2 separate regions of the Homo sapiens genome follow, and region 2 is linked to region 1. The links are contacts of gene promoters, found by promoter capture Hi-C in blood cells and fetal thymus (Javierre and others, 2016). All regions are on one chromosome and are shown on one strand. Each heading gives the region's core, a stretch centred on a gene start or on the middle of the fragment in contact. The rest is flanking DNA. Distances are from core to core; before and after follow the strand shown.

Region 1 (2,840 bases), core at 115-2,614:
TTGGCTAATACAAGATACTCCTTTATTACCTGACCATTCAAAATGCTTCCTGTCCACCGTGTGCCAAGCACTGTGATAGTTAAGATATTAGATTTACCATGCACTTTTCCTTAAATGCACAGTCACGTGTATACATTTAGTAATACTTTCCTTAGTGCGTAATTTAACTTTAGAAGTGTAACAGGATGGTTTAAATATTTAAAATTATCAAGGTATCTTTGGCACTGTAATCTTACAGTTATAATACATGAAGATACTATAATCATATCATGTGAAATCGACTGTGAAAACACACACCCGTGGAACGTATATACATAATAAATGGACATAAAATTGTGCTTCCACCAAAGACTTTCATTATTTCCTTTAGTAATTTATAATTATACAGTATGTTATTCCACGCCTGTATCAATTAATTATGCAGAAAATGATTCAACCAAATCCGAACTGTTAAGTCCTACTCATTACAAAACAAAAACTAAAGTCCCTACACCAGACTTGATTTTCAAAGAGCTTCTTAAAACAGCTCTGCCCCATGCCCAATAAAGTGAAAGCTGGAAGCAATTATCAAGAAGAAAAACACACTTTAAGACAATTTTCTTTAACACATGTGGACAGGGAACCGAACGCAACGGGAGGCGGAGTGGCATGATTCCGTAAAAGTGGACGCTGAATGGTAAATTTCCCAACCCCCAACCCAAAACAAAGGAAAACTTTAAACATGTTGCGGTTTTCAATCAAACCAAGTAAAGCCAGAAAGGCTCATCCACTCGCCCCACACACCCGCTCCTCTCCCCGCACAGCTGCTACCGGCGTCGGCCGATACACAGACCCCCAGCCTTTAGGACCCAAAGGGGCCGCTTCCCTCGCCCCTACTTCGGCCGTAGGGGCAAAAATAAACCTCTCCTCCCCGTCGCCGGGCGGTCCACACGACCCCAAAGACAAGGGGTGGGGAGTGTCCCCACGCCCCTGGAACCTCAGGTCGGACTTGGGCGGGACCCGGCAGGTCTGGACAGGGCAGAGACCGAGTCAGGGGCGAGCAGGTAGCGCGGGGAACGAGACAAGCCCGCCGGGCGATCCGGGGGAGGGGAGAAGTTTCTTCCCAACTTCCCGACTCGGGCCCGCGGGGGCGGGGAACCGCGGCGGCGGCGGCGGCGGCGGCTCCGGGCGCTGGGGCCTAGCCCTGTCCGGGCAGAGGTGGAACCCTCCGCCCGCGGGGCCCCACCGGGTCCTTACCTGTCCTCCGGCCGCGCTCTCATGAGTCGCTGCTACCGCAGCTCGAGGTGGCGGAGGGCGGAGGCGAGGCCCGCGGGCCCTCTCCCTCCTCCACCTCCTCGTCCCGGGGCGCCCGGCGGCAGCAACGACGGCAGAGCCGGCCCGGGACGCGTTACTTCAGGAGGAGGGAGTTCCCGGGCTCCCCACGCCTCGGCCTCACTCTCCACCTCCTCCGCCCCCCCCCCCCGGCCCCGCCCCCTGACTTCTAGCGGGGGCGGGGGCTGCGGGTACCTGCGCGCGCCGCCGTCCGCTCACCGGAACTCGGGCCACGCCGGCCCGGCTCCGGGGCCCCCAGCCTTCCGGCGCCTACGCCCCCGTCAGGTCCCCTCCGCGGGCTCCGGGCCGCTTTGCTGTGGTCAGGATAGGCGACCGGTCCGTGTCACTTCTCCCGACCCAACATGGCGGCGGGGTCCGGGGCGGATTCCCGGGGGCGGTGCAGGCCGAGGGGGCGTGAGGAGGAGGTGCTTCCCTGCCCGGAGAGCAGGCCCGCGGCGTCCCTTCCCACCCGCGAACCCACCGACGCTCGGCTGCCGCGGAGATTGAATGGAGCGCTCCGATTCTGCCCCTCTGCCTTTCTCTGTTCCTTGGCCCAGCTCTCAGTAGTGGCCAGGGCTTTGGGGCTTGCTTTTGTGGGGGAGGACGGGGTTGAGTTTTTTTGGTTGGCTGTTTGCTTCTCAGCGCTACGCTTCCGCACCCTTTGTCGTTGGTAGTAAAATCTCAAGCCCAACCGCGTGAGCCGGGGGCGTTACTCACACCCTCATCACCATCCTGATCGCCGTCCAAAAAACGTTCACGTCTTGCCTCCTTCCGAGGCAGGGATCCTGTCCCTGCCCCCAGGAGCTTCCTGTTGACTGTAGGTCGAACCAGCCTTGCCGGGAGGGGAACCGAAGCTGAGTTCTGTTTGGCGACTATCCCAGTCATGGTGGCTTTGGCTTATGTTGGGACAGCGTTTTTCTATATGATGCTGGCGGCAGCCCAGTGAGGGAAGTGCAACAAGTATGGTTCTCCTGCTTGTCAACTGTGGAAACAGCGACCCTGAAAGTGGAGGAGCCACAGCTGGAATCGTGTCCGTCTGAATACACGCACCTTTCCTATGAGCCTTGTAAAGCCAGTCGTTGAAGAAGGGGGAGGACCCGGAAGGATGGGGTGGGGGCGTAAAGATGAAGGTTAATCAAGGTCCTCATGGACTGAACCTTGAGGCCCTTCTGCTGCAGTCACTTTTGCCCTATCAGACTTTTAGAGTAACTTCCTCTCTTTATTTCCTCTTTGGTGGGGTTATCAGAATTATTTTGTGACTATTGGTTTCCTTTGCGGTTTTTAGTGAAATTCAGAATCATCTTCGACGGATAGGAAATAGTGCAATCATATGTGTCAGTATTCCGGTATTCTAGGAACTTAAGGAAATGCATATAAGGGTTTGAACATTTTTTTCTTCAGCTCACTAAATGAACGAAAGGTAGGCGTAGGCGTTAAAGAGACACATAATGTGGAACGATGCTGTATTTTCTTAGCTACTAAAACTTCATTTGTCATTGACTGTCTCAGGGCTTTAAAATTTTATGTAG
Region 2 (3,045 bases), core at 33-2,532, 490 kb before region 1:
CACATCAAAGGTGCTCAGTAACTGTCTGTTGAATGGCAATACGGATAATTTATGCCCCAGTTACTTCCAAAAATAGTTTGACCAAAATATATTTGAGGTTTTTGTTTTTATATGAACAGCTTTATTGAAATATAATTGACAAATTGTATAATTCACCCATTTAAAGCATATAATTCAGTGGTCTTTGGTATAGTCACAAAGTTATGCAATTTAGAACCAATCTAATCTAATTTTAGAACATTTCCATCACCCCAAAAAGAAACCCCATACCCATTAGCATTCATTCCCCATTTCCTCTGTCCCCTATCACAAACTTTTAATCTCATTCTGGTGAAGAAAACTAAGATGCCACATTCCAAAGAGGGTCGTGTGTTAAATGAAGCTTTAGATACATAGCCTTTGAAGTCAAGAAAATCTCCAAAAGCTGCTTTGGCTTATGAGCTGATAAGCAGCACAGACCATCTCCCTCTATTATGTATCACAGGATCTGGCCTATAGTAGATGCTCAATAGATACACGTGGAATTGAACGCTTGGCCACCTGGATTAGCTGTGTATGGATGTCTACGGAAAAGAACTAACATTGGTGCTATATCTCTTTTCTTTTTTGAGATGGAGTTTCGCTGTTGTTTCCCAGGCTGGAGTGCAATGGTGCGATCTCGGCTCCCCACAACCTCTGCCTCCTGGGTTCAAGCTATTCTCCTGCCTCAGCCTCCTGAGTAGCTGGGATTACAGGCATGCGCCACCATGCCCGGCTAATTTTGTATTTTTAGTAGAGATGGGGTTTCTCCGTGTTGGCCAGACTGGTCTCAAACTCCCAACATCAGGTGATCTGCCCGCCTCCACCTCCCAAAGTGCTGGGATTACAGGCGTGAGCCACCGTGCCTGGCTGGTGCTATATTTTAAAGAACAATTAACTCACAATATAAGATACTTATGTGGGTCAGTTAGTTTAGCATTCGTTGAGTACTTCCTACATGTGAGGCACATTTATTAACTTATTTAAATCTTCACAACCTCGTGAAGAAGATGCTATTACTATTTCCCTGAGGTTAATCACCTGCCCAGTTAATAAATGGCATAACCAGGGCTGAAACCTAATTGCAGTGCCTGCATTCAGGGCCCTTGTACTCACCACCCCTCACCCTTTCATAGGACATAAGCTGGCAGCTCCCTCTTAAATCCCATCTACTGCTCACCTGTCTCCCTGTCTTTTTCGCAAATGAAGTTATTGACGTCTTCACATTGGAAATCGTTCCACTGCCCAGCATAAATCAACCCAGCACAGTCTTCTCCTGGCCCATGGCCATGACCCCAGTTATCCGGCTGTCCAGCTTTCCAATTTCTTTTAGCAAAACAGAAATTGAATGTTATTTGCACAGTAATGCAGAGCTTTTCTTTACTCAAGAGCAGCAGAGAATATAAAAAAACAAAATTGAAGCATGTCATTTATCCTGGAATGAAAATGCAGTTTAAAAATCAGTACATGCTCTTATTCAGAGAAAGGAGCAGCTGTTTTGCAGAGTAATGCATAATGCGGCATCTCCCTGCGCGCTTGTGATCTTTGCTACCATGAACCAAACTCACTAGGCTGGTTCATCAGAATGCAGAGGGAGCGAATCTTGCTTTGGGACAGTTAGATGAATAACTTTCTAATGTGTACTGGAATGCTGACTTCTGGGCATGAGTGTATATATGTGTGTGAATATCTATTCATTATGAGGACATGATACACACACACACACACACACACGCACACATGATCTTGTGAGAACCCAGAGGGACCTTGTACATTTCAATATCTTGCCTCTAACAAGTCCAAGAGCCAGGAAGAGAAAGTGAAAGACTTTTGATATACATTTACAAGAACCTACAATTACAAATAACTGGTTATGATTGTCTGGGTGAGTTGTAGAAGGTTGATTGCTTTAGAAAGAAATAGTAACTTAATCTTACTGAAAATGACTCCTACATTTCACTCCCTTTTTTGGGAGAGAGATTCTTAAAAACAAGTTTTCTTTAGGATGAGTTCACATGGGGCTTCTTAACTTGGATGCTGCTGCTCAGAACAGCACCTTGCCATGGATAACAGTTCTTGATTACGTTTCCACGAATAAATCAGGTGTGCTTCCAGACTCACCCCTTGAAGGTTCAATCTTGTCTAAGAAGCAGATTCATGCACAGAAGCTTGTGGCTGCTGCCTGAGAGGACAAGCCTGCCTCATGTGGAGGGTCTGGAAGAACATCTGCAGCGGAGGGTGCTTCCTATAAACAATGACTCATTACCGCACTGGCCACAGGGTGTCCTCGGGTCACCCGAGGAGACAGCCTGTATGGCCCTGTATCTTTGGACAATAACACCCGCAAAACCAGAGGCAGCGGGAAAGGACAGTTGAAGTTTAGTCAAAGGGTGGGGACAGGGTAGAACTGACTCCCCCACACCAAATGTGTATTTTGGGATTTAAAAAAAATGAGTATGAAGGCCGGGCGTAGTGGCTCATGCCTGTAATCCCAGCGTTTTGGGGGGCTGAGGCAGATGGATCACCTGAGGTCAGGAGTTCGAGACCAGCCTGGCCAACATGGCGAAACCCTGTCTCTACTAAAAATACAAAAATTAGCTGGGCATGGTGGCAGGCACCTGTAGTCCCAGCTACTTGGGAGGCTGAAGCAGGAGAATTGCTTGAATCCAGGAGGTGGAGGTTTGCAGTGAGCCAAGATCATGCCACTGCACTCCAGCCTGGGTGACAGAGCGAGGCTCCATCTCAAAAATACATATATATATATACATTGAGTGGCCTCAATTAAATAAACCTAGTGATGAAAGAGAATTCAGAGGAAACCATCGATTGGTGAGAGTAAAAATGGGATGCTACTTAGAAGGGAGAGTTAGAAAATAGTCTCACTCACTCACTCACACCAGGCATCCATAGCACTCCTGCTATGAGCCAGGTATCATCTGGGTGATGGCAACATAGCAGTGCAGAGAAGAGACAAAGTCCCAACTCTTACAGCTTACATAACAGATGAGTCACAATGAGTTCAAAATC

The links. Contacts are between HindIII fragments. The CHiCAGO score rates a contact against its expected background, and 5 or more counts as called.
Region 2: a fragment that was not itself captured here is called in contact with the fragment with the promoter of YES1 in region 1 in 1 of 17 cell types (monocytes); the score reaches 7.3 in monocytes.

What each region holds. Positions count from the first base shown.
Region 1 is chr18:810,878-813,717 of GRCh38, forward strand. It overlaps YES1 (YES proto-oncogene 1, Src family tyrosine kinase), which reads right to left and starts at 1,365. Exons shown (of 12, transcript NM_005433.4): 1 at 1,237-1,365. RefSeq lists silencers at 972-1,061, 1,132-1,191, 1,242-1,751 and enhancers at 1,483-2,025, 2,026-2,567. The HindIII fragment of the contact is 10,737 bases long and covers 1-2,840 here.
Region 2 is chr18:320,464-323,508 of GRCh38, forward strand. COLEC12 (collectin subfamily member 12) reads right to left here. Exons shown (of 10, transcript NM_130386.3): 9 at 1,199-1,344. Among named protein-coding and RNA genes, the nearest start is that of THOC1, 54 kb to the left of the region's middle. The HindIII fragment of the contact is 1,804 bases long and covers 381-2,184 here.